3 separate regions of the Homo sapiens genome follow, and all the other regions are linked to region 1. Evidence: promoter capture Hi-C in 16 types of primary human blood cells and fetal thymus (Javierre and others, 2016). All regions are on one chromosome and are shown on one strand. The core of a region is centred on a gene start or on the middle of the fragment in contact, and the rest is flanking DNA. Distances in the headings are between cores, read along the strand shown. Region 1 overlaps LOC124904915 (a long non-coding RNA gene). Region 2 holds the start of WFDC10A (WAP four-disulfide core domain 10A). Region 3 holds the start of WFDC8 (WAP four-disulfide core domain 8).

What was found. Contacts are between HindIII fragments. The CHiCAGO score rates a contact against its expected background, and 5 or more counts as called.
Region 2: a contact is called between the fragment with the promoter of WFDC10A here and a fragment that was not itself captured in region 1, in 3 of 17 cell types (M2 macrophages, M0 macrophages and megakaryocytes). The highest score is 7.3, in M2 macrophages.
Region 3: a contact is called between the fragment with the promoter of WFDC8 here and a fragment that was not itself captured in region 1, in 3 of 17 cell types (M0 macrophages, M2 macrophages and M1 macrophages). The highest score is 10.6, in M0 macrophages.

The regions. Positions count from the first base shown.
Region 1 is chr20:45,766,306-45,769,680 of GRCh38, reverse strand. It overlaps LOC124904915 (a long non-coding RNA gene), which reads right to left. Exons shown (of 2, transcript XR_007067610.1): 2 at 2,101-3,375. Among named protein-coding and RNA genes, the nearest start is that of WFDC3, 24 kb to the left of the region's middle. RefSeq lists an enhancer at 3,084-3,375. The HindIII fragment of the contact is 5,957 bases long and covers 1-3,375 here.
Region 2 is chr20:45,627,658-45,631,010 of GRCh38, reverse strand. WFDC10A (WAP four-disulfide core domain 10A) reads right to left here and starts at 1,272. Exons shown (of 2, transcript NM_080753.3): 1 at 1,107-1,272; 2 at 1-141. The coding sequence starts at 1,197. All of the region lies in intron 1 of WFDC9 (WAP four-disulfide core domain 9), which reads left to right. The HindIII fragment of the contact is 11,361 bases long and covers 1-3,027 here.
Region 3 is chr20:45,577,762-45,581,032 of GRCh38, reverse strand. It overlaps WFDC8 (WAP four-disulfide core domain 8), which reads left to right and starts at 1,749. Exons shown (of 6, transcript NM_130896.3): 1 at 1,749-1,811. The coding sequence starts at 1,786. RefSeq lists an enhancer at 1,999-2,934. The HindIII fragment of the contact is 6,723 bases long and covers 1-3,271 here.

The sequences.
Region 1 (3,375 bases), core at 156-2,655:
AGTATTAAGTTCCTCCTTGAGTCTTGTTTGGAAGCAGGTGAGGGCAAAGGTAAATGAGAGGTAAGTTCCAGTAGAATACTTGGGCAGAAAGAAGCATCCAGAGCAGCACTCTTTCACAGAAACATAATGCAAGCCATGTATGTAATTTCAAGTTTTTTAGTAGCCACATTAAAAAACTAAACAGTGGTCTGGGCACAGTGGCTCATGCCTGTAATCTCAGCACTTTGGGAGACTGAGGTGGGAGGACTGCTTGAGCTCAGGAGTTCAAGACCAGCCTGAGCAACATAGCAAAATCTTGTCTCTACTTAAAAAAAAAAAAAAAAAGTCAGTCAGGTGTAGTGACATGTGCTTATAGTCCCAGCTACTTGGGAGGCTGAGGTGGGAGGATCACTGGAGCTCAGGAGATTGAGGCTGCAGGGGGCTATGATTGTGCCACTGCACTCTGGCCTGGGCAACAGAGCAAGACCCCGTCTCAAAAAAAAAAAAACCCTAAAAAGTTTGATGGTTTCTCAATAAGTTAAATGTGGAATTACCATATGACCCAGCAATTTCACTCTTAGGTATATACCCAAAAGAACTAAAAACAGGTATCCAATGGCCAAGTGTGATGGCTCACACCTGTAACCCCAGTACTTTGGGAAGCTGGGGTGGAAGGATCGCTTGAGAACATGAGTTTAACACCAGCCTGGGCAACATAGTGAGACCCTTGTCTCTACAGAAAAATTAAAAAAATAACCAGGGTGTGGTGGCATCATAACTGTAGTTCTAGCTACTCAAGAGGCTGAGGTGGGAGGATTAGTTGAGCCCAGGAATACAAGGCTGCAGTGAGCTAAGAAGGTGCCACTGCACTCCTGCCTAGGTGACAGACCCTATCTCTGAAAAAACAAAAAACAAAAAACAAAAAACCCAAACCAAAACCAAACAAACAAAACCCCTAGATGTTCAAGCAAAAACTTGTGAACAAATGTTCATAGAAATAGAAACAGGTGGACAATAGCCAACAGGTGGAAGCAACTCAAATATCTATCAACTGGTGAATGGAGAGACAAAATGTGGTATATCAATACAATGAAATATTAATTCAGCCATAAAAAGGAATGAAGTACCAATACATTCTATAACATGAATGGACCTTGAAAACATGCTAAGTGACAGAAGCCAGTCACAAAAGGCCATATAATTCCATTTATATGGAACATCTAGAATAGGCAAATTCGTAGAGACAGAAGTACATTAGTGGTTGCCAGGGGCTGGTTTTAGATCCTTGCACGGGCTGGTCAATGTGCAGATTCCCCAATCCCATTCCAGATATTTTGATTCAGTAGGTCAAAGATGGGTTGGGCCAAGGGAACTGCTTGTTTATGTGTTTATTCAGAGCAATATTTAAAAAAAGCCCTCAGGGAATTCTAATGTGTGGTCTGGTTTGGGGATCTCTGAATTAGAAGTTCATGAAAGTCCCATCAGCAGCTCTAAGAATCTGTAGCCCAATTCAGTAATTTTTTTTTTTTTTTTTGAGACAGAGACTTGTCGCCCAGGCTGGAGTGCAATGGTGTGCTCTTGGCTCATTGCAACCTCTGCTCCCTGGGTTCAAGCAATTCTCCAGCCTTGGCCTCACAAGTAGCTGGGATTACACCCACCATTAGCCACCACGCCCAGCTAATTTTTGTATTTTTAGTAGAGACAGGGTTTCACCATGTTGGCCAGGCTGGTCTCGAACGCCTGACCTTAAATGATCCACCAGCCTCGGCCTCCCAAAGTGCTGGGATTACAGGCGTGAGCCACTGTGCCTGGCCCAATTTAGTAATATTATTAATGATCATTCTTCCTTTACCTTTCTCTTGTTTTTCTTTTTCAGCTTTCCTGCAATTTCTGAGCTGTCTATATGCTTAGGATCACAAGTCTTTTTTGTTATTCTTTTTCTCCTCCTCACCTTCCTCCTTCTCCTTTTTATTTTTTAATTTGTTGTTGTTGTTTTTAAAATAGGATGCATAAACATTATTGCGATATTTAAACAGTACAGAAAAGTTCAAAGAAGTGTGAATGATGTAAAAGAATATTTATGTACACTGAAGAAGCAATGAAAAAAATTGCTATCTGAAAGATGATTGAAGAGGTTTTATTTTTTTCCTTTCAACTTGTATTTTACTTTAAAGGGATTCATATGCAGGTTTGTTACACGCACTAATTGTGTGTCTTGGGGATTTGGTGTACAGAAAATTTTGTCACCCAGGTAATCAGCATAATATCAGATAGGTAGTTTTTCAATCTTCACTCTCCTATTGCCCTCCACCCTAAGTAGGCCCCAGCGTTTATCATTCCCTGGTGATGACATTTGAAACCATCAAGATCGCTAATGCACCAAAAAAAAAAAAAAAAAAATTCAAAGAAGATCTCCCTACCCATAGGTGACCATTGTTAACATGCTTGTGAAGGTCCTTCCAGACTTGCTTTATGCATATATGCAAATGTCGATATAGGTAGAATCATCCTGTAATAGGCTTTTGTCATTCAACAATATAATAGATAGATATGATTTTTAATTGTTAAGGTATTCAATGTTTAAATATTTACTTATTTATTAATTTAACATGGCTCTGGAACTCTGTAGCTATTGCTTGCCCTGTTTTCCATGATCTTTGCCAAATGGCTTCAAACGCTTTTACATTCTTTCTTTTTTTTTTTCTGAGACAGGGTCTTACTCTGTCACCCAGGCTGGAGTGCAGTGGCTCAAACACGGCCCACTGCTGCCTCGACTTCCTGGGCTCAAGCAATCCTTCTACCTCAGCCTCCGAAGTAGCTGGGACCACAGGCATGCACCACCACACCTGGCTATTTTTTTCAGTTTTTGTAGAGATGGGGTCTCGCTATGTTTCCCAGGCTAAGGTTTTTACTTTCAATCTTAGTTTGGTTAAACCAGCAGGTGTATTCGATGACAAAGCCTCCATTCCTTCTGCAACACTTTTCGGCTTGCAGATAGATTGCTATTTCTTGATATATATATCAAGAAATATATATATGTATTCTTGGTTTTAATTTTTAGGTTCTTCCATTGTGCTGTACTTCATTGTATAGGTTACATCTTTCCATGTTCAATACTTTCCCAGTTTTAATATTTTTTTCCTTTAAACATAGGCTTCTCATTCCAGTACTCTCTCACCTGAGGCCAGATAATATAAACAACTCAATCTCTTCTCTCTCGTTTTCCTCTTCCTTCTTAGCACTGAAACTCAAAACCAGAGCAAACCTGCCCCACCTGATGGCCCAGAACATCAGGGTCCCAAATAATGAACTGTTTAAATCACTTGATGCAAAATGAAACACTTATACTGAAATTAAAACAGTTTCTTTCTAGTTTTCTTGACTGCAAATTCTGGT
Region 2 (3,353 bases), core at 23-2,522, 140 kb after region 1:
TGCTCATGCAAACATTCCCACAGTAGGTAGAACAGCATATGTTATTTGCTTGACAATCTCGGTGAGATTCACATAAGTGTTTGCATAGATATAGTTTAGGCTGCTGCTGGCAGACTTTGATTTCTGGGGATAGCTGTGTTTCTGACAAGGAGAATAGAACGGTAAATAAACGCAGTTTCCTAGAGAACATTTTTCTCAAGCTGAAGCCTCCTCCAAGACCCTTGAACCCAGGTCTCAGTCATGATACTCCTGGATTCCTTCTTCATAGAACTACCTTCCTGCCCATCACCAAATCCTAGTGATTGGTCATATTTTAAATCCTGTCTCTCCACTGTACACCTTACCCCATTAGACCACAATGCCTGGGCTTCCTGGACCTTCTCCACACACCAGCAATCAGAACTCCATCTCCCTTACTAGTCATGGCCTTGGTGAAGTCACCACCAAAGAATCTACAGTCTGATCCTGAGAGCTCAAAGAAGCATGAGACATCTTTCAAACTCTCTCCTAGTCTCTGAATAGTAGAATTCAGAGATGAGGATCAACATGCCTCTTGTCTCTCCCTCTCTTCTGCTCACTGTCACTGTCTCTAGTCTTCCTGCCCCTTCTTTAGTTCCCTTTCCACCACCACTCTCCTTGCCCCTTTGATGATAACCTTAACTTGGCTCTGTGTACCCCAACTTTTGCTTGTCTTATGTCCTATTTCCCTACACTTATACCCATTCTACACCTACACCTACCGTCATAACCACTTCTGAATCTTTACTCCTCACAAATGTGCATAAATCAAATAATAATTGTCTTGCTTTCCCCACTGGATTCTCAGCCCTGGTGCGCCTTTCACTATGGGATGTGCCATTTCTCTCTAAGTATTGAGAAGGAACAGCAAAATATGCAGGTTTCTTCTTCATTCCCATTACTATTCCCAGGGCCAGCTAAGGGGCTGGAGGGCCATGGTTTAGGGACAGTCCAGAGTCTACACAACATTGTGGTCAGAGCTGGATATGCAGAGAGTTTCCAACTCCTAGGTCCTACTCAGACTGGACACAGGCCCTCCATTCCCCCTACCCAATTCCCCCTCACCCATCCAGCAGCCCATCACCTACTCTGCATCCTCTTCTTGTCACGGTATCCTCCCTGGGCCTGCAGCAGCAGCACACAGAGAACCAGGACAGGCAGCAGAGTCTGGGGTGCCATGACTCTGATCAGATCGTGAGCCCTATGTCTGGCCAGGTTGTCACAGACTTCCCTGCAGAGCTGTCTACGGAGAGTGAAGGAAGGAAAGAAGGAATGATCTTTAGCTCCTCACTGCCTCTACTGGCCAAGTCGGAGCAGAGCAAGAGAGTCCTTCCTCTTTTTGCTTGCCCCTGGCCTTGTCGTTCGTCATGTGGGATAGGGCTTCCGCAGGAATGACGCCTCCTCCTTTCACATAACCAGTCTTGTGTTCTTGCCGATAGAATGAAAGATATCATTTATTTCTGCTTTCTAATTACAAAATGTTTTATGGAAAAAAGAAAAGAAAAAATATATTGTTAAAAAGAGTTGCTTAGAATTAACTGATGTTTCATTGCATTATCTTTTAGTTTCTCTCCATATTTAATATAAACAATCCTTTTAATATAAACAACTTTTGTTATCTATTTTTGCCACCCTTATTTAATCATGTAAGTATTTCTCAAAATGTGGATTTTCATAATTGCACAGCTCTCAAATGCTAATAATCAAGTATTTGTATTGTACTAATTACTAATAATCTAGAGAATGTCATATTATTTTTATTTATAAATCTTTGATTTCTTTAGACTAAGAGAGCTAGAATTCCTGAGTGAAAGAGTAAGTAGCTGTTTCATATATAAATGTATATAAACACATACACAGATATACATATACAAATTTAAACACACATAAACACACAGAAAGAGAGACTATTGTAGGGCATGGGACAGAAGGGCTAGTGGAGAAACATAGTAAATATCTTAGAGCTCAGACAGGGGGAGAGACCTATCAGTCAAAGGCTTGGCAGGCTGTCCAGGAGGAGGTGGTCACTGACCTTGAATATCATGAAGGAAATGAACTCTCAGAAGTGAAGATGTTTCTTCTTCCCTAACAGGAGAAAGAGGGGACAACCTAGGGTCACTGGACTCCCAGTAGGCATGCAAGCTGGGAAGAAGATCACCCTCTTCCTCTGATGATGATAATCTTCTAAAGATTTGAACCTCTTTCTGACATTCTGAACTCCTAATGCAGACTCCTTCAGTCCACAGTTGTAATTTACATTCAAAGGAAGCTCTCTAGCCTTTCCCCCATATCTCACCTTATGCACCTTCCTCTGTATCCTTTGCGATATCCTTTATAATTCAAAAATTCTGATATTTGTACCTATAGTTTACAGAGTGGTATTTGACCCTTCCCAAAGGCTCTCTCTTTCCTAGTTTTTCTTTTTGTCCACTCATAAATGAACAATTTAGAGACTGGACACTGTCATAACTATCCTAGCAAAGAGGGGTTATATAGAGGAGAATCATCATCTCAAATAGAAGCTGCATTTTCCTTACCCAAGCATCTTGCAGCCAGTGCCACAATGTAAATATTTTGGCTAACAGACTTGTCACTACTAGGTCAAGACCCTAAGAAGATGGCAAGTCTCTTTCACACTCTTTTTCTTTTCCACCAGCTCAGTATAGATGACAACAAGGTTCTAGAGCCTAGTGAAGCCAAAAGGTGAAAGGAGCCTGGGTCCTTGACTTCTTTTATCACATGAAAAAAGGATACCCATTGTTTTAGAATACTCATTTTGAATTATTATTTGAGCAAGAAATAAAAAGTATATTGTATTTCAGTTATTATGTGATGGAGGCTTTCTGTTAAAGCAGTCTAGTCAACATTGTGGCAGGCTCAAGTACTGACATTTATAAGGGGAAAGATTTATGGGTATATAGAAGGTCTATACTTTATACATTCAAATTATTGATAGAGTAGTAAATTTAGTAAAGAGATGGGTAATTTGAACATTATGATTAATAAGCTTGACTTAATTAAAATATACAGAAGTCTGCATAGAAAAACTAGAGGAACACATTTTTCTCAAGCACAAATAAAACATGTACAAAAAGTGACTATACATTAGGCTATAAAAAAAGTCTGAACAAAATTTTAAAGAATTACATCACAAAGGACATAGTTTCAGACTATAATGGAAATAATTAGAAATTAGTCTAAAAAAAGACAATTACTCAAAACTGAACAGAAATTTCAAATTAAAATATATAAGTCAGAGCTTCCAGGTGGCTACCACTGAACACTTAGAGGTTGTTGGAGAGCAGCATGCTCATGGAGGGCATGGAAGCTCTCTA
Region 3 (3,271 bases), core at 500-2,999, 190 kb after region 1:
TCAAGAAAAACAACCAACAGCAGAGGTCCACAAAGACTTCAGATATTGGAGTTACTGTATTGTATTGTAGCGAGTTATTGTATTGTAGGAAAGGAACATAGAAAAAGGATTCCTGATTCTGTCTTTGGGGTAGGAAGGGCACGTGATAAAAACTTTCATTCAAAAGGTAAAAGACAAGCCAATAAGGGTTTTAGAAGATTACCCTTGATCCTGGAAGATGTTCATAATACATATAACTGAGGAAAGACATGACTCCAGTAGAAATCAGCAAGAAAAAGTCAGAAAACCCCAGAGAACAATGAGCAAAACATTTGAAAAGAAAATCAAAGAGAGGATAGCCAAGTGGTTAATAAAGATCTAAAAAGGTGCTCAACCTCATTAGTAGTCAAGAAATTTAAATTAAGTCCACAGTGATGTATTTCCATACTCGTAGCAGGATGGTAAAAATGAAAAGATTGTGACAGTTCTACATACAGCATGGTTATGGAACAATAGGAACTCTCAACTACCAATGGCAAGGCTGTGAATTGGTACAAACTCTTTGGGAAATAATTTGGTATCAGCTTGAGAAGCTGAAGATATGCATACCCTGTAACCCATCATTCCCTATGCTGAATGTATAACCTACAAGAACACCTGCCCACGTGCTCCAGCAAATGCACACAGAGTGTTCATAGCAGCTTTATTCTTTTTTTTACATGAGTAAATTGTTTAAAATTTTTTTGACATTTAAAAACATTTATTAATTCATTTAACGTAATAAACTTATTACATGTTGATATAAATAACATTTTTATTTAGAAAATCCTAGTTTTTTATTATACTTTAAGTTCTGGGATACACGTGCAGAACGTTATTACATACATGCTATGTATACACACAGCAGCTTTATTCTTAACAGCTGCAAACTATAAACAACTCAGTAGAGATGTGTGTAGTCATACAATAGATGGCATGGCAATGAAAATTGACAAAATACAGCTACACAAAACAATGTGGATGGAATTCATTAATATAATGTTGAACACAAAAAGCCAGGCACAAAAGAATACATTCCAAGTGACTCCATTGATATAGAACAGAAGCAGACAAAAACAAAAACATATTTAGGGGAATACATATGATCTTGAAAATATGAAAAAGAAAGTCACTACCATTAGCTGCCTTTGAGAGCATAGGAAGGGGTTGTGACTGGAAAAGAATGAAAAAGGAGCAGAAAGTGTTGGAAATTTTTTACTTGATTTCAGTGATAGTTTAATGAGTGGTCACTTCGTAATAGTTCGTTAGACTGAACATTAATGTTTCATGCATATTTTTATTTTTGTGGTGTTTTTCACAATACATATTTTTACAAAAAGGAAAAGTAGCTCTTCCTTGTTTTGTCTCCTTTTCTTTACTAACTGAACTAGTCAGTCCTAAAGCCATTAGATAGGCACATTTAGCAAGGTAGGCGTTTGCCCCAAGGGGAAGGGAGCCACGGCTGGCTCCGTGTGGGCATCAGAGCTGGAACAGGTCAAGGAGGGTGTCTCTGTAGGAGGGCTGCTGGCCTGGTGTGCTGGAGCCAGGGGTAGATGAGAATGCCCAGTGAAGAGGCAAGAAGCAGCATAGCATGGAGACCAGCCTGCCCATGTTGAGAAAGGCATCCCCCTGGGGCTAGAGGGGCAGACTGGCATAGAATGAGAGCCTGAGTGGGGTGAGCAGAGTGTCCAGGCAGGGGAGCAGATGAGGGAGGAGCCTTAGAGCTGGAGCAAAGTGAGGAAGCTGTCTCCATAGGGAAGAGGCCTGATGTGGACTGTCCGAACTGAAGGAGGGTGAGGAGGGTGTCTATGGGGGTGGGTAGCCAGACATGGAGGGTCTGAGCCCAAGGAGATGAGGAGGATACATAGAAGTTAGAGTGGTCGGCTGTGGGGAGTTGGGCCAAGCATAGTGAGGAGGGGTTCCACAGAACAGAGCTGTCTTGTGTCAGGAATCAGAGCCTAAGCAGGGTGAAGAGGGCATCAATGCATCCAGCGATTCTCCTGCCTTAGCCTCCCTAGTAGCTGGGACTACAGGTGTGCGCCACCACGCTCGGCTAAGTTTTGCATTTTTAGTAGAGACGGGGTTTCACCATGTTGGCCAGGCTGGTCTCGAATGCAACCTGATATGGCTGTTGGAGCCCAAGTAGGGTAAGTTGGGCATCTTTGAGTGGCCCAGTGTGGAGGGGCAGAGCCTGAGCAAGGTAAAGTTTGATATTTTAAATTAAACAAGCATATAATATGTATCTAAACATTTTCAAAAAATTAAAACAGGAGTAGTAGTGATGGGTTATATTATTATTCACAACTATTCATTCCATCTTTCCTTTAAGAGGACACTCCTGTCCATTACCTTGCAATTTTAGAACGGCCCGTGGAAGGAAGACACATTTCTGTCTCATTGACTTTGGGTTTGCTGTCAGCTGTGCTTTGCCTATTGGAGTATGAGCAGATGTAGCATATGCATAGTGAGTTTTGCACTGTGAGTTTCTGCCAGCTCCTTTGTGCTTTCTCTCTGCCAGGAGAAGGGGCCTAATCCACATAGAGGCTGCTTCTTTTGTCTTGGTCCCACAGCCTCAAGTAGAGCCCCCACTTGGAACAAAGCAGTAGACAATTTGCCTAGGAAGTCTTTTGTTGTGGCAAGCCATGGAGAGCTCAAAGTTCTTTGTACACCAAAGTAATAAAAATACAGTTGATTCCCATTACTTGGGGGTAGTTATGTTCTGTAAAGTCACTGTGAACACCGGATTAGCAAATACTGAGCCATTGCTCCTAGGGAAAATGCAAGCCTCTGACCACACATTTTCATCATTTGATCAATACATAACCTTGTTTTTATATGTGCTTCTGTCTGAAGACACATGACAGAGATGGTAATTAGAAGGTGCACACAGAAGACTTCTGGGAAGCTGGCTACTTTCTATTTTTTAATCTGTGTGGTTAATTATTAAATAAAACTCTACATACTTTATTTATTTATTTATTTTTATTTTTATTTTTTTTGTTTTGTTTGAGAGGGAATCTCTCTCTGTCCCCCAGGCTGGAGCATAGTGGTGTGATCTCGGCTCTCTGCAACCTCCACCTTCTGGGTTCAAGGGATCCTCCTGCCTTAGCCTCCTGAGTAGCTGGGACTACAGGTGTGCACCACCACTCCAGGCTAATTTTTGTATTTTTAGTAGAGACAGGGTTTCACCGTGTTGGCCAGGCTAGTCTTGAACTCCTGACCACAGGTGATCTGCCTGCCTCAGCCTCCCAAA